Regions from separate parts of the Homo sapiens genome. Here regions 1, 2, 4, 5, 6 and 7 are each linked to region 3. The links are contacts of gene promoters, found by promoter capture Hi-C in blood cells and fetal thymus (Javierre and others, 2016). All regions are on one chromosome and are shown on one strand. Each heading gives the region's core, a stretch centred on a gene start or on the middle of the fragment in contact. The rest is flanking DNA. Distances are from core to core; before and after follow the strand shown.

What was found. The method cuts DNA at HindIII sites, captures the fragments that hold promoters and counts their contacts. A CHiCAGO score of 5 or more calls a contact.
Region 1: a contact is called between a fragment that was not itself captured here and the fragment with the promoter of RASSF6 in region 3, in 1 of 17 cell types (endothelial precursors). The highest score is 5.7, in endothelial precursors.
Region 2: a fragment that was not itself captured here is called in contact with the fragment with the promoter of RASSF6 in region 3 in 4 of 17 cell types (fetal thymus, neutrophils, monocytes and 1 more); the score reaches 11.8 in fetal thymus.
Region 4: a fragment that was not itself captured here is called in contact with the fragment with the promoter of RASSF6 in region 3 in 1 of 17 cell types (monocytes); the score reaches 5.0 in monocytes.
Region 5: the fragment with the promoter of PF4 here is called in contact with the fragment with the promoter of RASSF6 in region 3 in 6 of 17 cell types (neutrophils, endothelial precursors, M2 macrophages and 3 more); the score reaches 14.6 in neutrophils.
Region 6: a contact is called between a fragment that was not itself captured here and the fragment with the promoter of RASSF6 in region 3, in 1 of 17 cell types (megakaryocytes). The highest score is 6.5, in megakaryocytes.
Region 7: a contact is called between a fragment that was not itself captured here and the fragment with the promoter of RASSF6 in region 3, in 1 of 17 cell types (neutrophils). The highest score is 6.1, in neutrophils.

What each region holds. Positions count from the first base shown.
Region 1 is chr4:73,933,325-73,936,676 of GRCh38, forward strand. No RefSeq gene overlaps it. Among named protein-coding and RNA genes, the nearest start is that of PF4, 47 kb to the right of the region's middle. The HindIII fragment of the contact is 1,440 bases long and covers 1,341-2,780 here.
Region 2 is chr4:74,116,763-74,119,913 of GRCh38, forward strand. The region is part of intron 1 of LOC105377277 (a long non-coding RNA gene); the gene reads right to left. It also overlaps a transcript of MTHFD2L not described here. Among named protein-coding and RNA genes, the nearest start is that of CXCL2, 19 kb to the left of the region's middle. The HindIII fragment of the contact is 613 bases long and covers 1,402-2,014 here.
Region 3 is chr4:73,618,880-73,622,155 of GRCh38, forward strand. It overlaps RASSF6 (Ras association domain family member 6), which reads right to left and starts at 1,557. Exons shown (of 11, transcript NM_177532.5): 1 at 1,409-1,557. RefSeq lists enhancers at 1,031-1,580, 1,581-2,129. The HindIII fragment of the contact is 3,198 bases long and covers 1,222-3,276 here.
Region 4 is chr4:73,995,887-73,999,351 of GRCh38, forward strand. CXCL5 (C-X-C motif chemokine ligand 5) reads right to left here and starts at 2,791. Exons shown (of 4, transcript NM_002994.5): 1 at 2,587-2,791; 2 at 2,320-2,452; 3 at 2,126-2,209; 4 at 1-1,769. The coding sequence starts at 2,695. The coding sequence ends at 1,751. It overlaps LOC124900715 (a long non-coding RNA gene), which reads left to right and starts at 2,342. Exons shown (of 2, transcript XR_007058140.1): 1 at 2,342-3,465. The HindIII fragment of the contact is 1,301 bases long and covers 1,556-2,856 here.
Region 5 is chr4:73,980,515-73,983,678 of GRCh38, forward strand. PF4 (platelet factor 4) reads right to left here and starts at 1,513. Exons shown (of 3, transcript NM_002619.4): 1 at 1,349-1,513; 2 at 903-1,029; 3 at 297-777. The coding sequence starts at 1,439. The coding sequence ends at 690. RefSeq lists an enhancer at 465-1,206. The HindIII fragment of the contact is 10,026 bases long and covers 1-2,213 here.
Region 6 is chr4:73,314,727-73,318,153 of GRCh38, forward strand. All of the region lies in intron 3 of ANKRD17-DT (ANKRD17 divergent transcript), which reads left to right. Among named protein-coding and RNA genes, the nearest start is that of ANKRD17-DT, 57 kb to the left of the region's middle. The HindIII fragment of the contact is 4,979 bases long and covers 1-3,427 here.
Region 7 is chr4:74,066,213-74,069,509 of GRCh38, forward strand. No RefSeq gene overlaps it. Among named protein-coding and RNA genes, the nearest start is that of CXCL3, 29 kb to the left of the region's middle. The HindIII fragment of the contact is 1,573 bases long and covers 1,041-2,613 here.

The DNA.
Region 1 (3,352 bases), core at 811-3,310, 310 kb after region 3:
AATCAAAAGGAAAGTATTCTGTGTTCCTGTTTAAGTGCCCATTTAAATTGATGCTGAAGTTTTCAACTGCTATTCACAGACTACAGGGCTCTACCTGAATTTTCAGGATTCTTTAGACGCTCATTAAGTGCAGACATGGCCACCTCAACTTTCTTTAGGAGTGGAAACTCCAAGATTTAAAAATAATAAAATTCTATGTTGATTTATGATATAAAAAGAAAGCTCAAGAAATTATTAATAGCAGGTAATTTTCTCAACCTCAAATAAATATTAACCTAAAATAATATAAATATTATATAAAATATATAAAATAATATAAATATTAACCTAAAATAAATATTATACTTAGTGGTAAATGTTTGGACAGTTTCTTAAGAACAAAACAAGAGTGTCTGCTATCAACACTTCCCTTCAAACATGTACTAAAAATTTTAATCAGTACAGTGAGGCTAGAAAAATATATAAAAATTGATAATAGGTGAAAACAAAAAACTGCCATTAGTAGTAGATTGCATAATTGTCTATGTAGAAAATGCAAAATAATTTACACTACTAGAATACTGATGAGTATAAAAATTAGATACAAAAACCAGAAAACACAGTCTTCAAGACACTATTTACAATAGTGGCCAAATACAAAAGTCTCTAGAAACAAGATAAACAATGTACAAGGAGAAACATTTTTTAATATTAAAGACCTTAATTTATGGGCTATACCATAAAATGTTAATATCTTAAACTTGCATCAACTGTCTCTCCCAAAACTGATCTATAAAGTCAATAAAGTTGAATTCAAAAGTTACATATTGACAAAGTAATTCTAAGGTGTATATCAAAGAACTGAGAAGAGATCAGTGACTCCTAAAGAAGAAAAACAATTTTGGGAGACTTGCCTTTTCAGTTATCAAGAAATTTTATAATAATATAGTGATTAGGATAGTATAGCACTCATGTAGATATGACATACTGACCAATGAGAAAAAAACAAAGTCTAGAAACAAACTACACATATAAGAAATCTTGATTTATGACAGAGATTGAAAAATGATTAACATTTCAACACATGATACTGCACCAATTTGTAATCATATAAAAAATAAAATTAAACTTCTACCTCACATTATAGAGAAAAATCAATTCTGAGTAGATTAAAGTTCTAAGTAAGAAAGACAAATCTACTTAATTTTTAGAAGACAATGTAGAATATTTTATGATTCTGAGAAAAGATCAGCCGTAAGAGAAAAAATTATATTATAGAAAATTCACTTTAAAACACACTGCAGAGATAACTTTGTGCCACATATGTAAGTGACAAATGATTACCATCCAAAATTTTTTAAAGCTTTTATGAAAAGGCTAATAGCACAACAGAACAAGTGGACAAAAGAAACAGAAGTTTCACAGAGGACCAACTACAAATGGTTCATAAATGTGAAAAGATATTCACCTTCATTTATAATAAGGAAAAAAGCAAATTAAAATCACTATATGATACCATTATAGAGTCATTTAGCAACAATTTCAGAAGTCTGAAAATTTCAAGGGATGGCCAGTGAGTGGAGGAAAGAAACTTTCATGAATTGCTAGTGGGTGTGGTAAATGAGTACAATCATTTTAAAAATAATTTTTTATGATTTGGTAAAGTTGAATATATGCATGCCATATGAGCCAGTAATTCCACTCCTACATATATATCCTAAAGTATCTCTAGGACTTATATACCCAGGGCTCAGCACAAAAAATGTTGAGAGCTATGTTACTAGTATTAGCAAAACTGTAAGCAACTCAAATTTCCACACAGCAGTGGACCAGATAAGTATTTGTGTTGCCACAAAATGTAATAGCAGTCATTGACTGAAATAAATCATCCTATATGAAATTCACAAACAAGTTCCTAAATGACAAAATTAGGTCATATCTGTGTAGCATCAGCTCATTTTTCCAAAGTTCAAAACAAATAAAATTAATAATCAATTGTTTAGGATTTTACTTATAGATGTTAAGCACTACAATAAGTGGGAATGACTGACACTGAGTTCAAGTTAAGGGTTAAGGTGCAAGGAGTGTGACAGGAAAGGAGAAAGATGAGATTTGGAATGGGTACAGAGAGTACTTCCAGTATCCTGCTAATGTTCATATCTTAAACATGGAAATGGGCATAGTGGTTTATTTTGTTACTCTTCCTAAACCTTTGTCTGTGTGTATATATGTATATAGGCACACATGCAAATAGTATACATATGCATATACATGTTTTATACAATCTTTAATATTAAATATTATTTATATAAAACATCTATTCATGTTTTTATATAGTATATGTTTCTATACAATCTTATACATCTATGACATATTGTGCAACTTAAAAAACTTTTTAAACCTGCTACATTATATTGCAACTTTTGAATGTTCTTTGTCCAAGTATATAAAAGACTTCCCAATAATCTAGCATTATCAAAGTATTTTTAATGCTAGTATGTGTCATTGCTTATTATAGATGTTCATTGACTTCAAAAATCAATCTACACATTTCAGTTTATGCCTTACTCATGCTCCAATGTCAGATACTTTTTTTTGAAGAAGAAGAAGTTACTAGAATAGAATCTTGAAGATAGTGATTTTTTTCCTTCACCATGTAAGAATAATGCCCAAACCCTTGTCTCCTATATTGTTAGTCTGGTAAATTTTGCAAGAACTTCATCTCTGAAAACTACTACTAGAGACTATTACTTTCCCCTCATAATTCCTACTTACATTATTTCTTTTCAGCTACAGCAAGAAGCTTCAAGTATCAACTGGACATTTTTAATGAGTATAGAAAAAAATTTAAAAAATCATATTCCAAATATATTGATATTGCAACTCTTAGCTCTCAGAAGCATCAGCTATGTGAGGTAAGTACAGAAAAATCTGAATGAAGATAAAGACAGCCATATTGCCTAACCCTTAATTTACTATTTCAAATCAATGTAGCTGGCCACAATATTGGATTAAGAATTCAACATTAATAGAAATAGTCATGGAGAAATCACAGAATACCAATTATTTGCCAATATCATAATCAATATGAATTTATTGAGCTGCTACTATGAAATAGTGTTAGGCATAAAAGAGCAAATATCCACTCCTTAAGGTTGTAATTGTAATCAAAACCATAACTACATAAGTATAAAAGAACTGCTTGAGTCCAGCGAAAATTTATCGGTATAATTTGATGTAAGATTTCAGTTGAATGTAATAATTCCATCTGCTAACTAATATTAAAATAAACACCCTAGATTGACTTGAAATAATATTACTACCATCATCTCCCCTTTACCCTTCAGAAAGAGAAGTACAGACCCTTTAATCA
Region 2 (3,151 bases), core at 458-2,957, 500 kb after region 3:
CTACATGATTTTATGAAAAGTTTTCCTTGGCTTTGGTTCAAAGAGATTTTTCTTTCCTTGACACTAAAGTGGTAGTTTGCACTAGGCATATAGATACCGTTCTATCTTTCTGGTTCTCCACTTAAATGACACTCATGTCTGCTACATTAAAATTAGCTTGTTAGGTTTTATTTCACCAAGTTTATAAAGTAAACCACATATCGTTTTCTCTTTTGTAGATGCTGAAAGCAAAGTTCATGTGGGAAATGTTTGGCAATAGCTGATTTATCCTCAGGGTAACAATATTCTATAACTCCTTTGATCTTGAGGCCTCTGTGATGGAAATGCTTGGAGAAAGGGATTTTAAAGGGAGATTCTGAAGTCCTTGGGAAAGTCCACAAGTGGACGGGGCTTCATAGCCATGACAACAAATGACATTGTCTAGGAAACAGTGAGTCATGGCATGCTGAGCTTAGAATGGAGCCAACAGAAGGAACCTGGCCTCGGACACAGAATCTTTTGGCTGCTGACCCAGAATGACTGTGAAAGACTAACACTGTTTAGCAGATTTTTCTTGAGTGTTTACTATGTGTGAGGTTCCTGGGATTCAGATTCAGCTACTATTGTTAAGAGGAAATCAACCAGGAAGTCAGTTAAGAAAAGGTACAGTGGGTTTTCAGGCTGCAGGGTACAGAAATGTTCCCAGGCCTGGAGAACAAACCTTCAGATCTTAATCTGTACAGGGAGGTGGAGGGTGAAAGAATGATCTTTCAGGAAGCGTTCAAGTAGGGCTGCTGCTTGGATTGAATTTTAAAGAATGCATAGGTTATATGCAGGATCTATATATAGATCAATAGCTTCCCTGAGCACATGTTCAAAGGTTCAAACATTTGGGGTCATTTCTTTGCAAGAAGAGTCACTCAGTGGCCTGAAAGTCCATGCAGCAACTTCCCTCATGAGAGCTGCTTCCGCAGCAGGCCCAGGGTTTCTAAAGGAGAGAGCACACAGATGTAAACACTCTGTGGTTCTGAGGACTGTCACCTCTTCTTTTCACCCATCACTTTTGTCTTAAGAACTCTATGCTCAACCCTAATTCTCAGTCTCTATATCAATTCCCACCAAACAGATGCAAAGTCCTGTCCATTTGCTTCCATGAACTCTGTACTTATCGATGATATAATACTCTGCTGACTACATTTTACTTGCCACTTCATATCCTCACTAGACTGAAAGACCTATAAGGGAAGAGATATCTTATTTATATATCTTTCTTATATATCTTTCCCATATATCCTATTTACTGTTGTACTTACAACTCCTACAACCGTGCTTGGTACATAGGGTGTTGAAAAAGTATTTATGAAATTATGAATAACACTGATTCTATTAAATAACATTATTAAGTTAATGAACAAATAATTAAGCTTAGTAAAATATCAAAAGTTAAAGATATCAAAAACTAAACACTTATAGAATAAAAGTTTGCTTTTCTTGTCTAGTGAGCACATTAATACAGATTTTAACCCTCTTTTGTCCTCTCCTGATTCACACGAAAAAATACATAGGCCTCAGCTGTTCATTGGTGCCAGATAAAAATAAAGTACTTTTTAATTGTAATTACTGCAAAGGCTCTTCAACAGTGCACAGTATACCAGGAACTGAAACTTTTCTTATAAAACAAAATAAATATCAGTAGAAACAGAGCAAAGGCATTTCATTAAGTATTATGGACTGAATTGCATTCCCTGTAAATGTGTTAAAGTCTGAACTCTCAGTACACCTCAGAATATAACTGTATTTAGAAATAGGGCCTTTAAAGAGGTAGTTAAGATTAAATGAGATCATGTGGATTGGTCTTAATCTAAGATGACTGGTGTCATTATAAGAAGAGGAGAAGACACCAGAGATGCAACCACACAGAGAAAAGGTCATGTGAGCAGGGATCCCCAAACCCTGAGCCAAGAACTGACAGTGGTCCATGGCTTGTTAGGAACCATGCCACACAGCAGGAGGTGAGCCAAAGGCAAGGGAGCAAAGCTTCATCTGTATTTATAGCCGCTCCCCATTGCTCACATTACCTCCTGAGCTCTGCCTCCTGTCGGATCAGTGGTGGCATTAGATTCTCATAGGAGTGCACACCCTATTGTGAACTGCGCATGAGAGGGATCTAGATTGCATGCTCCTTATAAAGTCTAATGCCTGATGATCTGAGGTGGAGCTGAGGTGGTGATGCTAGCTCTGAGGAGTGGTTGCAAACACAGATTAACATTAGCAGAGAGGTTTGACTGCCCAGAGACCATAATAAATCAGTTGCCTGCAGACGCATATCAAAACCCTGTCAGTGAGTGGCAGGTGATAATTCAGCTGCATCTGGTGGCTGGCTTTATAGTGGCAAGTGCGTTGATGTACTTCAACTGTACAGCTGCATCTGGTTGCTGGCTTTATAGTGGCAAGTGAGTTGATGTACTTCAACTGTACAGCTGCATCTGGTGGCAGGCTTTAAGTCAGAATCTGACACTTATTTTAGTCCATGTGTGTCCTGCCCATTATTTTATTTGTCACTTCCATCCGCACCTCTTTCCTGCACTGCACACTTGTCTCAATCAGTTTTGGTAAGCCCACAAGCTAACCCTAGCCAAAATGAATAAAAACAATCATCACTGGAGAGTTTCTTTGAAAAGTGGGAAAGAACCAATGATGAGACAGCAGAAGACTCTAAGACTGCCAACAAAAAGAAAGCTGCATTTAAAAGAAAATACTGGCCGGGCGCGGTGGCTCATGCCTGTAATCCCAGGACTTTGGGAGGCCGAGGCGGGCGGATCACGAGGTCAGGAGATTGAGACCATCCTGGCTAACAAGGTGAAACCCCGTCTCTACTAAAAATACAAAAAATTAGCCGGGCATGGTGGCGGGTGTCTGTAGTCCCAGCTACTCAGGAGGCTGAAGCAGGAGAATGGCGTGAACCTGAGAGGCAGAGCTTCCAGTGAGCCGAGATCGTGCCACTGCACTCCAGCCTGGGTGACAGAGCGAGACTCCATCTCAAAAAAAAACAAAAAAAACAAAATACCATGAGTCCTACTTAAATTACAGGGTCATTGCACCAGATAATTCACATTCTCCAAGCCCTCTTTTTATAATATGTGGTGGTTGGCTATGCAATGAAGCCATGAAA
Region 3 (3,276 bases), core at 307-2,806:
CTCAAGAAAATTAGCAACATTAATAACTAACAACATTGACAAAAGTGCCCTTTAAGTGAAACTTCATAAAATAAAGCCACTTTCCTGTAATTTAAGCTTAAGAGGTAGAGACTGACAAAATACAAGTATTATTCCTTCATGTCTCTTGTCCATCAACACAAATTAAAAACAGCACTTCAATACAAACAATTCAATATGTGCTGAAATATAAAGACATGGATTATATGGTCTAAATTGATGAAAGTTATTCAAAAGCAGTCTCCTTTATAAAACCCAAATGGCATGAATTCCACAATATGAGATTGTGTGTAACTCTCTTACTCTAAAATTCTATTTTCTTTTTAGGAATAACAGATTAATGTAAATGTGAATTTTTCAAAAGAAAACTGATTGAGTAGCAAATATGTCTGAATTTGCCACCACATACTCTATCTGAAAAATGGAAAGAAGCCAGGTCATTTCGTTGCTACCCAGAGAGATGATCCTAGCACACCTGTCACCTGCTTGCCTGTCCTGGATCCAGTCTCCGGGAACCAGTTCAATTCCAGCATCCTAATACACACTGTCTGGTCTCCCTAGTTCAGCTTGCCCTCCCTGATAACGGCCCCTTTGGCAGAGCAGCTTATTCTTAATGCTAACAGTAGGTATCACTTACAGAACACTTGCTGACTGTTCAGTTCCCATCAAAGAAAGCCTTATGTGGCAGATCCTTTGATGATGCTTGTTTTACAGACAAACGTTTGGGGCTTAGGTTAAGAAACTTGAGAGGGGGCAAACTAATAAGTGGCAAAGCCGAGCTTTGAACCTACCACTCTTCTGCTTCAGAATTCATATCCTTAACTCATGCACTCCCATTTAATTATTTATGTTTATTATTTCATTGTTTGGTGAGCGCTTATATTGAAAATTCATTTTTTTTTTGGTGGGGGGCATGCTTTCTGTCACTTTGCAGAAACAAATAAAAGTTGAGCTGAACCCTCAATTAAGTTCTTTCCAGTGCGATGATTCAACACAATATTCTAACCATAAGGATACTCAGAGGAAGGAGTATGCCATCCAGAAGTCTAGTATCTTTGTAAGGCACGATTTTTGCCAGGCACAATTACAGGTGAAGGGCTCATTGAACTAAAGGGAGGAGGGGTCCTATGGTCACATTTACCTCCAAGCCCTTCTCTGCACCCTTTCCCTCCCTTCTTTCCCCTCTCTCCCTCCCACCCTACAAGCTTACCTTGGTTAGGAAAGCATATTCTGAGAAAATCAAAAGGAAAAGGCATGTGTGCGATTCAGGCTGCTATGACACACACACACTTAACTTTGTTGCCTATGGATTCTGCTTTCTAATAACTTGCCCTCAACATGACCCCAGGGAGTGGATTAGAAAGTTTTTTTCCCCATCCCCATTTTTTACCTGTTATTCACACTGTGAGCAGGAGGACCCTTTTCACCATCGTTGTTCGGCTGAACTTGCTTCGCGGTTTGTTCTCGGCTGGGTCAGGAACTCTGGTAGAGGGAAACCAGTGCCCTGTCTCTGCCGGGCTGGGACTCCGCGAGTCACTCACCTGTAGGGGAGGTCCGAGGCCCGCGCGGGCGCAGGGGCGGCGCCTGTCTCCTCCCAGAGCATGGCTCAGCTGGGCGCTTGCAGTGCCCCCGACGCGATCAGCGATCCTGGAGCCCCAGGAGCTGTTAATTATTTCTCCTTTTCGCCACAGCAGGGAAGTGTCAAGAAACCTGAGCCACTCCCTGTGCCTCAGTGCATGTTGGGAGTGTTTACTTTCTTAGGAACAGCTGATAGGTACACTCCTTTGCTCTCTGCCACACTTCTTGAGAAATGAATGGACATTCTAGTTAACGCTTTAACCACGGGATTTGACTGATGTTAATCTCTATTCTCTAGTCCACCCAGACTGTAGGTAATTGGCCTGTGAGAAATGACACCAACCAAGACTGAACGCCATTATTCACGTCTTTCTTTTTAAGATTTTTCTTTTCCAATTTGAGATTTGTTAACTTTCTTTTCCTTGTTATTTTGCTAACACATTTCCCTGCTAGCACTTTTTTTCACCCAGAGCAGCGTTTCGCGCTTCAGGGTGCACCAGGACCACCTATGTATTCTGCTAAACCCAGGTACCATCAACTGTGAGACTCTGATTTAGTAGGCCATGCATACACTTCGGGTATTTATATTTTTTATAAGCTCCACAGAAGAAACTGGTAGACATCAAAGTTTGAAAATGAACATAATGAAACAAAACAGAGGAGATAAATAATAATTTAGTCATTATCTACTGAATTGGATTTGGGGGCTTTGTTTTATCCAATATCTCCAATTTCAAAAGGACACCAAAAAGGCTTAGAAACTGTTAAATGACAGATGCTGTGGAAATATGAAGTACATTTACACACACACACACACACACACACACACAGATTTTTAAGGATCATTGTTATTTTACTGGTTTCCTATGTAAAGCAACTATTCATAATTTTTAAACATAATAGGTTATTTTACAAGTGTAAACCTGAGAGCCCTCAAAAGAAATTCAATCTGATTCCTGCAAAAAGTTCAGCAGGCAGAGTTAATTTCTAGTATCTTTCGTGTTCAAACGCCAGACAAACAGAATGACTCTAGATGTTCAGGTTGCATGTTTGTCATAGCACTTTAAGTAAGATCCTATATGTTCAAAAGGTGAGGCAGGCCAGGTGCAGTGACTCACGCCTGTAATCTCAGCACTTTGGGAGACCAAGGCTGGTGGATCACTTGAGCCCAGGAGTTCAAGACCAGCCTGGACAACATGGCAAAACCCTGTCTCTGCAAAAAAAAAAAAAAAAATTAGCCCGGCATTGTGGGGCATGCCTATAGTCCCAGCTACTCGGGAGGCTGAGGTGGGAGGATCACTTGAGCCTGGGAAGTCGAGGCTGCAGAGAGCCAAGATTGCACCACTGCACTCCAGCCTGATTCAAAAAAAAAAAAGAAAAAATATTAGGCAGTTTATCTATTTAATCTGTGGTGTGCGGAGACCAGGAACTATCAGATTTATCATTATTTGAGCAAATGGTTTTATTGGATCACAATCAAAGATTTTACAATCTTATGTAAGGACAGATGTGACTTAGTATTACTTGCAGATATTAATTCGATCATCATGTTGGCTCCATAACTCTCTGGTATGTGGCTGCTGGTATGGACTGACCTTTGAATGATGACTAGCAGGACCTAGAGTAGTTACAGCTCTCGGTTCCAGGATATCTTGCTCAAATCCATGCTCCACCTCCATT
Region 4 (3,465 bases), core at 956-3,455, 380 kb after region 3:
AATGTTTTATTTTTCTTGCAGTAGCTTTGTTAATTGCACAAAATTATGTTTTGTTTTTGCCATTTAAATATTATCACAGAATCCTATTCTGAAAGACAAATGTTCATTAAAAACAAAGCAAAAATAGAAATTCACAACCATTAATTACCTAGGTTTGTCATTTAAAGGTTTAAAGAAAAAAAGGGAGGAGCTTTCCTACAAGCCTTTTCACAAGTGTCACATTTTCTCTTTAAAAGGGAAGGATTTCCAAACAAAGGTGAAATAGCTTAAACAGAAATATTTGTAAAAATAAACTTTACAGCATTATCAAGGATATTAAGACAACACTGACTAACCGGTTTCATTACCGCATCTTCCCCCACCCCCAACCCCAGTGTGTCCCACCAGGACTAGAACAGGCTTTACATTCAGACAGAAATGCTTCAAAATCCCAGTGAAATGAACTGTGCTAAAAACCCGACAGGCATCTTCCCTGCCCTCCCCGCTCCCGCTCGTCTTCTGCAATCCTCTAACCCAGGTTCTACTCTGTGAAAGGGGCCAAAGCTGTGAGTGGGGAGGGAACTTGCCCCAGCGTGGCCACCTTATATATAATTATATATTCTACCATAAATGCTGGCCTTCTTCAAATTATGATTTTGGAAAATCTAACCCATACAGAGGGATAAAAAATTGACATCCCTTGGACAACTTCTCCTTGTTTTTTTTTGTTTTGTTTTGTTTTTAACATTCCAAGCTCTCTCTGGTCCCCTATCCAAGGAGAAATGCTAGGGCCTCGAGGATGTCGCTATATATTTTTATAACTAAATGATAAATTTATATTCAAATTGTTTGAATACGTTTCCAAAACTTTCAGAGTACAAGTCATTGTTAAGTTTGCCTTTACTTTAAAAACTAAAAGAATACATTTCTATATAAACTAGCAGTCAGGAATTTGCCTGTTTTCTAGCTTCTTCATCTATCTAAAATATATATTTAGCTACCAGAATTATGGTACTCCTAATAAAATACTTAATAAATAGCATATAAAATCAAAGTTTAAAAGTAAATGATGGCAGTTTGCCATACTAAAAAGATAAAGAATGTCTAAAATTATAGGAAGATAAGATATTAGCCCTCATAGAACTTAAACTTTTAGAAATTCTGAATAAGGAAATATATTCTACATAGATAAGGTGTGAAACACTCAGCTTTCTAAAGTGAAATAATTAAATAGTATCCCACAATCAAGAGTAAGGAAATTCTCTAACATATTCCCCAAGAAACATTAAAATATTTCCTATTTCTTATAAAAGTGAAGATAACAGTGTATTTCCATCAACAGAATTCTTATGAAACATCATTTCCACATTAAATCCACAGCCTTCTCAGTTAATATCTTAAGGAATATTTCTTGGAAATATAATAGTCACCTACAATTCAAGACACTTTGAAAGATTAACAGCCAGTGATTCCTGGCTCACACTATAGTCAATTGCCAAAACTTCAATAGCATAGCAGATAAAATAACAGCAAATAGCAGAGGTACTATGCTAAACACTTCATTAGCTGAGCTGAAAGCTTAAGCGGCAAACATAGGTTTTCCTCACACTCTTCAAAGTGAGGAATCCAGGAAGAAAGCTAACTACTGGAAAAACAAATAAACAAACAACAACAAAATCTTTCCTTCTTGTCTTCCCTGGGTTCAGAGACCTCCAGAAAACTTCTCTGCTGAAGACTGGGAAACTTTTCCATGCGTGCTCATTTCTCTTAATCAGTTTTCCTTGTTTCCACTGTTGAGAAAAATGTTATATTAGTTTAACCATTTTTCACACTCCTTTCTACTCCACCCTTGTCAAAACTCAGCGTTTATGATGTTTGGTAAAAAAGGAGAATACAAAAATCAATAAAAGCAATGGGTAAACAAAAAACATAACTTAGTGACAAGCTGTGTGTAATTGCTCAAGTAATTACATGTAAGATTGGTATATTTTCCCAGGACAATCCAGAAAAACTTTCCCAATTCAACAACCTTTTAATTCTAAACATGAAAAGTGTTACTTAAATCGTACAGAGAATAAAGACCTTGTGAAGTCTATGGTCTCCCTAGATCAGATTTAGAAACCACAAAGATCAAAGTGACAAGTACCCGTCCAAAATTTTCTGGATGACTTTCTTTAGAAAAGGGGCTTCTGGATCAAGACAAATTTCCTTCCCGTTCTTCAGGGAGGCTCTGAAGGAAAGAAAAAGAAGATACACTCATGAGATACCAAGGTTGAAGACCCAGGCTGCGGGATTTCTCTCTTGCCAAGGTCACAGCGGACACAGCAGCACAGAACTTACACCACTTCCACCTTGGAGCACTGTGGGCCTATGGCGAACACTTGCAGATTACTGATCATTTTGGGATGAACTCCTTGCGTGGTCTGTAAACAAACGCAACGCAGCTCTCTCAACACAGCAGCGGCAGGACCAGCTGGGGAAGAAAGAGAGACACCCTTTATAGGGCAGGTTGCTGGGAGAGTTCCCTGGAACGCAGCGACCCCGCAGAGGCTGGGATGCACCTCTGTGCCCGAGTGCGAGTGCGTCCCGCGCGCCATGCGCTCTCACCGCTGGCGATGGGCCCTGGCTGCGTCAGCAGCAGCAGCAGCACCAACAGCGCGCACAAGGAGCTCGAAGGACCGGGGACACGGGCCGCGCGGCTGGACAGGAGGCTCATAGTGGTCAAGAGAGCGCTGCGAGCGGTCGCGGGTTCCTGAACTGGGTGGAGGAGCGGAGATTGGAGGAGCGAAGATTGGAGGATCCGGAGCACTGTGGCTTCCTCGTGCCTTCTGCACTCCTTTTATCTACACTCATCTCTCCCCACTGACAGGAAACTCAAGCTTTGGGATGCTGGGGAAATTCCCTGAACTCATGGGGCAGTGTGGAAAGAAGAGGTTGGGGGAGGGGGGCCAGACAATGGGAACTGGTGGGGAGGGTGGCCAGGAGGAGCTGCGTGCACCTCTACCGAGAGGGACGTTGTAACCCTGCTCCGCGGTGGAGGGAGCTGTGGCTCCAGCTAGAAGGGAGTAGCTATTCAGCAGGATTCAGCAGGGCCTCATGGCCTGTGCCAGAGCGGGCTAGGGATGCCGGCTTTTCTGAGGCACGCAGCCCTCTGGGAGATGCTCCTCCTCTCCTTCTAGAGAGAAAAGGTGGAACCAAAGTAACAGGAGCCTTGATTTGAGAAAAATTTCTGAAAGTCAATCCTTTCTAATTATTATTACTATTAATCAGGAAATGTTATTCATGTTTGAATTGCTATAAACTGAAAGTCCTTCCTGTCTTCCTTGCAGGCAGGTCATTCTAGGTTTCTTGAATGACTTTATGAATCTCTGGACTTCAACCAGCTTTGGAAGCCAAGATAACATGATAACAAGAGACCCTTGTCTCTTGCCACTTGAAGTCAGTGGCCTGAAAGGACCACTGAATTTTGTTAACTCCCCTACAGAT
Region 5 (3,164 bases), core at 263-2,762, 360 kb after region 3:
TTAGAGCCTTCAGAAGAAACACAGCTATGATCATACTTTGAGTTCAGCATGTTCAACCCACTTGGGACTTGTGACCCCCCAAATTGCAAGATAATACATTTGTATTGTTTAAGCCACTGAGTTTGTGTTGATTTGTTACAGAAGCCATAGGTAACTAATATACCAACACTGCAACAACTTCCTTTCTCCCCAGAGTAGAGCAGTGCCTTCCTGAGGGATGAATAAAAACATCATCTAGTACGTCTCCTTGTTTCCAGAATTTGTGGGCATAAAAACAGTCTTATTTATTTACTTAATTTTTTAAAAGCCATCTGTGTTACTGATATTTATTGGCAAAGGTAATAATAATGGTCAAGGTAAATATGTAGCTATAAAGTACTGCAATCATGTAAATGCATGAATATGTATCAGCCAACATGTAACACCAAGCATAACCAGTATTCACACCTTCCTTCAAAATACTTTTTGCTTAAAATACCGGAATTTTTTTCTTCCATGAAATTGTTATGTGTCAACACAATTTTTGCACTATTATTAAGAAGTATTTTGACTATACTACAACTTGATTTATTTTGTTTATTTAAAATCATAAGGATAACACAAATATCAGAAGTTCTTTCACAGTTAGATTGAAACTGGAAAAAAGAAGTATGCTATATAGCAAATGCACACACGTAGGCAGCTAGTAGCTAACTCTCCAAAAGTTTCTTAATTATTTTCTTGTACAGCGGGGCTTGCAGGTCCAAGCAAATTTTCCTTCCATTCTTCAGCGTGGCTCTGGCAGGGAAAAGAGAAGAGATGTGACTTTCAGTCCTTGGGTTTGCAAATGGCATTAGAAGGGGGAGGGTTGGGCAGAGGAGGCACGGAGCGGGAGCACTGACAGATGCAGTGCAAGGACTCACATCAGTTGGGCAGTGGGGCAGTGGGGTCCGGCCTTGATCACCTCCAGGCTGGTGATGTGCCTGGGACGGACCTGGGAGGTGGTCTTCACACACAGGCACTGCAGGTCCCCATCTTCTTCAGCTTCAGCTGAGGGGGAAATGGAGAGGGTAAGAGAGGAGGAGGGGAGGGAGTGGTGACTCCATGAGTAGCCAGAGGTACTTTAGGGACTTTTTCCACTACCTTCAGCCTTCTTTTCCTTACCATAAATCACACCTCCCCCAGACAGAAGTTGTTCTAACCAGGTGGGAGGTGCAGGTGCAGCGCCTGGCACTGTGGCCAGACACTCAGCAGGCTCTCCGTTAAGTGTGGCTGTGATCATGATCCTAGAGGATTCCTCCCCAGCCCCAGGGCTTCCCGGACTCCCCCTCGCCGCTGCCAGCCCTCACAGCCTGGCTTCTGCTCTCACCGCTGGCGAAGGCGACCACAAGTGGCAGGAGCAGCAACCCCAGGAACAGCAGCCCGGGGCGTGAGGCGCAGAACCCGGCTGCGGAGCTCATGCTGCGGCAGAGCTTCCAGCAGGATCTCAGTGCTCAGTGCGATGGGAAACTCGGGCTGGGTCTCTGTGGCCAATGACTCCTGAGCCTCGCCGGCACGTTTTATTCCCGGCTGTCCTTCCAGTCCGGAAGCCTGAAGTGGACACCGAGGAACTGCGGTGCGGAAACTAAGATAGTACTGGGAAGACTTGGGTTCTGGCCAGCCAAGATTACCAAAAAAAAAAAAAAAAAAAAAAAAAAAAAAAAAAAAAAAAAAAAAGAAAAGAAAAGAAAGAAAGAAAGAAAGAAAGAAAAGGCTCTGGGCAGCTGCCTTGGCTGGGACCTCCAACCTCAACTTACATACAAGCACGTTTGTAGAGTTAGAAACAGAACTTGAGTCAGAAAAGGAATGTTTTTTGTGTTGTATTAACAGTAGAGTTCTCTGCTGTCATCATGCAACTTACACAGTAGGTGCTTTCAGGACCCTGACAGTTCCTGTTTCCTTTCCAACCTCCCAGCTGCAACTACCAATTATTACTACTGAGTTTGGTGGCTTTGTGTGTGAAGCATGTGTTATTCGCAATTATTTTCTGCTACTAATAAGTTTAATTTGGTCTCTAGGCGATGACTCTTTTGAATTTCACCTGAATGTGGAAAACTTCCCTAGTCTCTGGATGGTATTTACCAGGCTCCACCAACAATCACCCAGTATGCTGTAGGACGCAAGGTCTATTTTCCCATTACTCGTACTCTTGGAAAAATTGCAGAAGTAATATTTGAATGCATTCTTTTTGTAAAAGCTTAGTGCCTGGCTGTTTCTTCATTGTTTCCATCCTGAATAACAGTCCAGAAGAGAGGACAAGAAGAGTTTGCCAGGCCATGTCTCCCAGTGCCTGCTGTGTCTTCAGCCAGTGCTAGTGACAGGGTGAGATGAGCTGCACTGTTGGTGGGGAGCAGTGATGCTCTCTGCAGGAGGATTCAAGGCATCTGGGAGTTGAATGTGAGAATGATGGGAGGTGACGGTGGAGGGGATGCAATAGAATCCCACATAGGAAAGGGGAAGAGATCCATATGGACAGTCTTCCCTTCTCTGAGAAAGAATGACTTTGGCTCTTGATTAGGGCAAGGTACACCCTTAACCCAAAGCCAGAGGTTCTCTATCACACTTATTAACAGTGGTAAAGGGTGTCAGGAGCCCACTGCATGGAAAGCTGATATTCTAATATGTGGTAGGACTGGACTTCTATAGAAATATGCAATTTAATTGTTGAGCTGAGTAATTTCTTCCTCCTACTCTCCCACTACCTGCCTTTTCACCTGACTAAGACTTATTTATACTTCCGGAGTCAGCTTAAGTGTCAGTTCCTCAGAGGGCCCTTCCCTGACAACTATATGTAATTGTGTTCTCTTGCCTTTCTATCTTGCAGAACTCTGTCTTTCCTGTTTCTCACAGGTAACACACACACACACACACACACACACATATATATATATTACACAGAGATACGTATGTGTGTGTGTGTATGTGTGTATTTCATAGTGTTAAAAATGGTTTTGTTTCCTAAACTGGAAAACACTATGAAATCAGAGATTATAACATTTATCACTGTTTCAGTGTACTGGTAGAGACTCAATTCAAAGTGCCACATTAGCGAAGATGATGTGTTGAAAATGATGATGATGAAGTTTTAACATATCCATGTATTTGCTCCTTCAAGCAATTGAAGTATACCTCTATATTAACATGTG
Region 6 (3,427 bases), core at 521-3,020, 300 kb before region 3:
GACCAGCCTAGGCAACATAGCAAGTCCCCCATCTCTATGAAAAATATAAAATTAGCTGGGCATGGTGGCTTGTACCTGTGGTCTCAGCTACTTGAGAAGCTGAGGCAGGAGGATCACTTGAGCCCAGGAGGTTGAGGTTGCAGTGAGCCAAGATTGTGACATTGCCTTCCAGCTTAGGCAACAAAACAAGACACTGTCTCAAAAAAAAGAAAAAAAAAGAAAAAAGAAAAAAAAAAGAAAGAAAAAGTAGAAAACAAATGAATTAGGAATGCCTCTTGAGGGCACCCTTAATTTCAGTGAGAATGTGAAGATCCTAGGTTGACAGAAATTAGAGTACTTAATTACTAAGGCAAATTGGCGTGATTACCATAATTATAGACCATAAATTCCTGACCATTAGTCTGGATAACTACTTGATCTGAGCTGATCATGATGAACCACATGTTATCCATTAAAGTACCAAGTTAGTCATGCCTAGTAGCAGTCCACTATAAAAAGGAAGTAATATATGTGGAACTGAGCCGGAGAATATCTAGAGGCACAAGAAGGATACATGTGTTTATGATTCATATTCTGAGTGTGCTACTTCTGCTTCGTTGTCATTTTTCTCTCAACTTCATTTATGACCTCATGGCAAGTTACCTATGACCTAAATCTCTGACCTTGGTTAACAGATGAGTCAACATAATTTGCTGGCACTAGGTGAAAGTAGACTACCACCTCCCTACAAATCTAATCAGGGTTAGCTCTTAAGGACCATGAAAAATGAATTCCTCTTGATAGGTAGAATTTTGAGTATCCCAGGTAATTTTCCAGTTATGAAAACCATAGCCTGAATCAAGAATCTATGCCCATTTATGGTGACTGGCTAGTGGAACTAGAAGGAGGAAGATTAGAGTCTTAGAAACAAGGAGTTTGAAAAGTAAAATACAAGGATAGATGTCTTCCTATGGATCCAGAATATGAGAATATTGTCCCAAATGAAAGCGTGTCAAAAAGTCTTTACCATGGAAGAAGCTCTTAATAATCAAAGAGGCTGGCAGTTAGCCTCTATCTATGACCATACCATTGCTTTCTTAATAGGCTCATTAAAAAATACCAATCTTGCAGGGATGGAGGCCATGCATGGACTCAACAACATCAATTTTTACTCCTGAAGGCTTGCCAACAGCAGGAACTTATCCTCAATCTTTTATGTGACATCTCCATTCGTTTTCTATTGCTGCATAAAAATTATCACAAAATTAGCCATTGGTAACAAAACGCATTTATTACTTCACAGTTTCCACGTATCACAAGTCTGGACATGGCTTAGCTGAGTTCTTTGCACAGGTTCTCGGAAGACTGTAATCAAGGTGCTGGCCATACTGGCATTCTTGTCTGGAGGCTTCATTAGGGGAGAGTCCAATTCTAAGTTAATTCATAGTTTTTGGCTATATGATTGAAGGCCCTGACTTTTTGCTAGCTTTTGTCTGGAGGCTGCCCACAGCCCCTTGACACATAGTCTTTTAGTACATGGCCACTTACTTCATCAAACATACAAGCCAAGCTGGCTTTATGGGCACACATCCTATGCTGTCACATATCCCTGTGCTTAGAAGGCCCCACACTTGGTTTAAGGCTCTTTTGTAGCTGTTTTGAAATTCTTAGTAATTTTTGAAAAAAGGAGCCCCAGGTTTTGCTTTTGCAGTGGGCCCCACAAATTATGTAGCTAGTGCAATCTGCAAGGAGAGTTTCTAGCTCCAGTCTGCTAAGATGGAGACTTTGGTAACATAATCTAATCACAAGAATTACATCCATCATCTTTGCCATATAATGTAATCATAAGAGTGATATCACCTTTGCTACTGTCTACTGGTTAGAAGCACGTCATAGGTCCCTACCATACTCAAGGGAAGGGGACTATAGGAGGACGTAAATACGAGGAGGTGAGAATTGCAAGGGCCACTCGTAGGTCTTTCTGCCACAGTACCATAAACTGGACTAGGGCAAGTAGAGAGCAGGTACCTAGAAAGGATTTCAGCTGGATTTCTCTGCCTGCCATGCTTTTGTTTGCAGCACTATTTCTTGGAATTTTTGAGTGTCTTATTCACAGTCATTGCATCCCACACAGCATTGTCTCCAAGGAATTATTTTACAGTTTACAATTTATCCCTTACCACCTGCTTTATAGATTGTCGAAATGTCGTACTGAAGACTAGCACCTATAGTGCCAGGCAGGAAAGCAATTTCTTGGGAGGTCAGGATGTTGTCTTGCATAAAGTATTATATGCTCTGAACTGGTAATCAGTACATGGGCTGTTTTCCTCATAAACAGAATGTGTAGATTTGGGAAGCAATGACTATAAGTGGTGGCTCATAAAATTACACCAAATGCCTACTTATACATTTTTTTGCATCATGTCTTCAGAACATGAGTTTTTACTGGTTCAGAGATCTTAATGTCTAAGAGATATTACTTAATATCTAAAAGAGATTTCCTGTAACCACCAAGAGACACAAGCAAAGTTCAACTGTATCGACAGTGGCCACTGCCAACTGGCTGTTTTGAATAATTGATGCCACTGGACAAACCAGACCAAAAGGGAATTCAGGTGTTGGCAGAGGTGATTGATTCTATTCATGAAGAGCAATAGGTGTATTGCTACACAGTGAGGGCAAAGAAAAATATGGATAAAATCCTTCATTATTTATAGTATTTATAATTCTTATTTATTTTCCTTTTCAGATTTTATTATCTGAGAGCACTAGTACATTACTGAAAAGCGATGTCTATAATGGACATCTGTGTATTATGACTCTAAAGAGAGTATTTCTAGCATTTTATCATTACATAAGATGTTTGTGAGGTTTAAAAAGATGACAGTTAAGTCCATTTCCTTCTTTTTCTTTCTTTTTTTTTAAAAAGAAAAAAACTTCAACTTTTGTCTCAGGATCTATACGCCCATTTTCTTCTATTCTTGGTATGCTTTACAAAAAAAAAACTCATGAATGTATGTTGCATTTTTTTCTTATGCATTTTTCATTAACTAAACTAATTATGTTGCTCATTTAATTTATAAATGTGGTGAATCACATCAATTGGTTTTCTGTGTTTCAGACATTTTGGAGTTTCTGAAATAAAACCCACTTGATCCCTTCTATGTTCATCTCCTGCGCTGGATTTGATTCATTAATATTTTATTTCAGTTTTTAAATCTGTATCTATAAATGACATTCACACACCATTTTTCATTCTTGTATTATCCTTTTATTATCCTTATCTTGTATTATCCTTGGTTTCAATTTTAAGGTAAATTGGGTAGTATGTTAGTCAGGGTTCAGTTTAAGATAACAGATTCCATCCTGAAAAAAAAAGGATTTATCCTGTGAGGTGCTAAATGGATTACTTACAGACATGTTTTGAGAACTGAAGAAAGAGACTTAT
Region 7 (3,297 bases), core at 577-3,076, 450 kb after region 3:
GGAAGGAATTTGAGAGCAACCTGACAGAGTAAAATGGACGCAAGTTTATTAAGAAAAGGAAGGAATAAAAGGGTGACTACCTACAGGCAGAGCAGCCCCGAGTGCTCCTAGTTGCCTACTTTTATGGTTATTTATTGATCATATGCTAAACAAGGGATGGATTATTCATGAGTTTTCCAGGACAGGGCCCAGGAATTTAGAACTCAGGGTTCCACCCCTATTCAGACTATACAGGGTAACTTCCAGGCATTTCCATGGCAGTTGTAAACTGTCATGGTGCTGGTGGTAGTGTATAATGAGCAGTGAGGACAACCAAAGGTTGCTTTCTTTGCCTTCTTGGTTTTGGGGAATTTTGACCAGCTTCTTTACCACAACCTCTTTTACCAGTAGGATCTTTGTGACCTGTACCTTGTGAAAGCAGTCCTGCCAAACTCTTATCTCATCCCCACCTCAGAGATTAAATACACCCCCTTAATCTTAAGGGATTGGAAAAGGACAGAGGTTTCACCATCTATAACGATTTCATTCTGAACAGGGACTGTCACGCCTATCTGCTCTGGAGATACAGAAATCTCTCACTACCTGATGTAATAATTTATAGAGACTTGGTCTTTCCCACAGTGGCACAGGCTAGAACCCTTGGGAAAATACCCTTGGGCATATTTTTCTGGAAGAGTTTTAGTCAGGAAAACATAAACTTTAACTATTTGAACCCCCTTGAACATAACAAATAATTATTTAACAGGAAAATCCAATAACACCTAGTGATAATTAAATGTTTAAGTCCAGTTGAACAATGCTTATAAGAAGTGTAGATGCCATTTGGAATCTAGTAAATAGACTGGAAAACCAGTCTTCTGATATATGAAATACAAAGCAAAACAGATTTTCAATAAAAGACATTTTTATGAGAACAGAAGAAAAACAAAGATTCATGGTGACACAATCTATCCATATGTTAGTCTCAAAACATCTTTAGTTATAGAGGCGGAAGGTGGTGGCAGTCTGACACATTTTTCTCACCTGTCTCACAAGGAATAAGCTTTAGCTTACAGAGCCTCAAGAAAAGATAGTAATAATTTTATTTAGTTTAGTTGGAAAAAGAGAAGATAAATTTGAAGACATTAGTTTGGGGACTTGTCAGTTTAAATTGCATAAAAAATGATAAAATCTCACAAACAACAAACAAGACTAGAATCTAACAACAGGTGTATTCTAGTTTTTTGGAAATATAATTGTTCTCTCTTTAGACTCCCATTTTTACCAAACACAAATCATGGCAGGACTGATTTGTTTGCAAAATAAGTTTTAGTTTTATTGTTATACTTGGCCTGATTATTTGTATAAAGTGCAAGAAGAATAATTATTTGCCATGTAGGCTTTGTTTGATTTGGCTTTGATGAAACTTTGTTCTATAAGGAATCCCATATTAGACATTTTAAAGCCCTGAGTCCAGCCACAGATTTACCTGTGCCTTCAAATAATTGTATTTGTAAGAGTTGGGTGAATTCCTCTCTTCTTGAGGTCACAGAATGACTTGAGGTTTCTGGGCCTGTCAGAATGAGATATTTTTTATTTACCACAAATCAGGAACCCATACAGTAACTGCATAGACAAGGTATGAGGCCAGCTTCCCAAGGGGCTTTTATAGTTTATGTAAGTCAACTTTGATTCCTTAAAGCAGTGTATTCATATTTGAAAGCATGCCATTCCAGTCAACACCTTAAGTAAAATAACCAGTGTCTCCAACTGTGTCCTGCTACAAAAGAAACAGATTCTTATTGCACTTATACAGATAAATATATTGCCGTAAGTTAAGAATACTCACAAATCGTTTCCAAATTCTGGAGAAATCAGGTAGGGAAAAAGAAATGTGCTCCAAAGTTTGCTCAGAGGAGTATACACCTTACTTAATTGCTAAAAGCTATGAATAGGTCAAAAGAAAAATGTTCTTGACTCTGAAAAATAAAGCAGAAAGGCTCATCAATGTTTAAAGCAATAAAATTATTAAAAGATTATTTTGGTCTTTTATCAGTTTTGTCCATGCTATTAACTCTTGTTTTGCCTGATATTGGACCAACAGTCCTTATGGATATATTAGCTTTCTGTGAGAGTCCTGGAAGGTTTTATTCCTCTCTACTTTAATGGAACACTGTCCAAAGTTATCACTGACCTTCACTTAAGAGTACTCATCAGAATCCTATAGCTGATTACCAACCACCTTTTGAAGAGGATCAAAACAAGACAAAAATTGTCTGTGGATGAAAAAAGTCTTAGGACATCCACAGTTAAAGACACAATTGACAAGGAAATATGATTTACTCTGTGGCACACAATAATTGTATATAGTATTTATAATTATTACTGATAATGTACACTAAGTTATATCGGAATTATTGGAGTTTTGCATAATTTTAGAACACATACCAGTAACACATTTAGACAAATACAGCCTAAAGGAAGCCAAATATCATTCTATATCTGGCAATGCTTCCTGTATGATGTTAATATACCAAATAAGCCAAATATGCCATTTTTGGACTTTAGGGGACCTGATATCTAAAATGATTAATCAGGTCAGAAAAAGATTTAATGTAGTATTTGATTTTGCAAAGCTTGTCAAACATCAATGGCTTAAGATACTTGATATTATAAAATAGGACTCCAGGACATCGTAAGTCATTTATTTAGCCATAATGATAACTCAGATATTTGAAAAAGGCAAAAAGCTTTACTCCTTGATAAAGAGGATACTTACTTTCCAAAGTCTGTGTCTCTTTTCTCTCCCTTATTTTTTATATAATTATTCAAAAGGCAAACAAAAATATTTCATTGTCTCTCATTATTCAAAAATCTTGTTCAAAAAGGAAAATTGAATTTCACTTTTGCATTAGTTCATCATTAATGCTAAAGCTAAGTTTTAATAAAACCCTTATCAACTTATCTATTACCCAATTTTCATTTGTTTGACCATAAGGTAAGATTTCCATAAACCTTTTGTAATCTTTTATAATTTTGTATGAAACAGCAGATCAACGTTTCAAAAAACCCTGTTATTCTGACACAGGGGCCAATATTCTTATCCTGCATCAGGGTGCTTTTATTTTAATATTCAGTTTATGGAAAAAATAAATAATACTCATAATTTTGGTCAACTTACTTACACACAGAATTCTTTACAAGGTTAATGTTTCACAAACCTTCTACAACTTGCTTAAACCTTCAGTTTTATCCTATTTCTTAAATCCTCTAAATTAGACTAAATGACTTTCTTTTTTAAAAAAACACATTCTCATG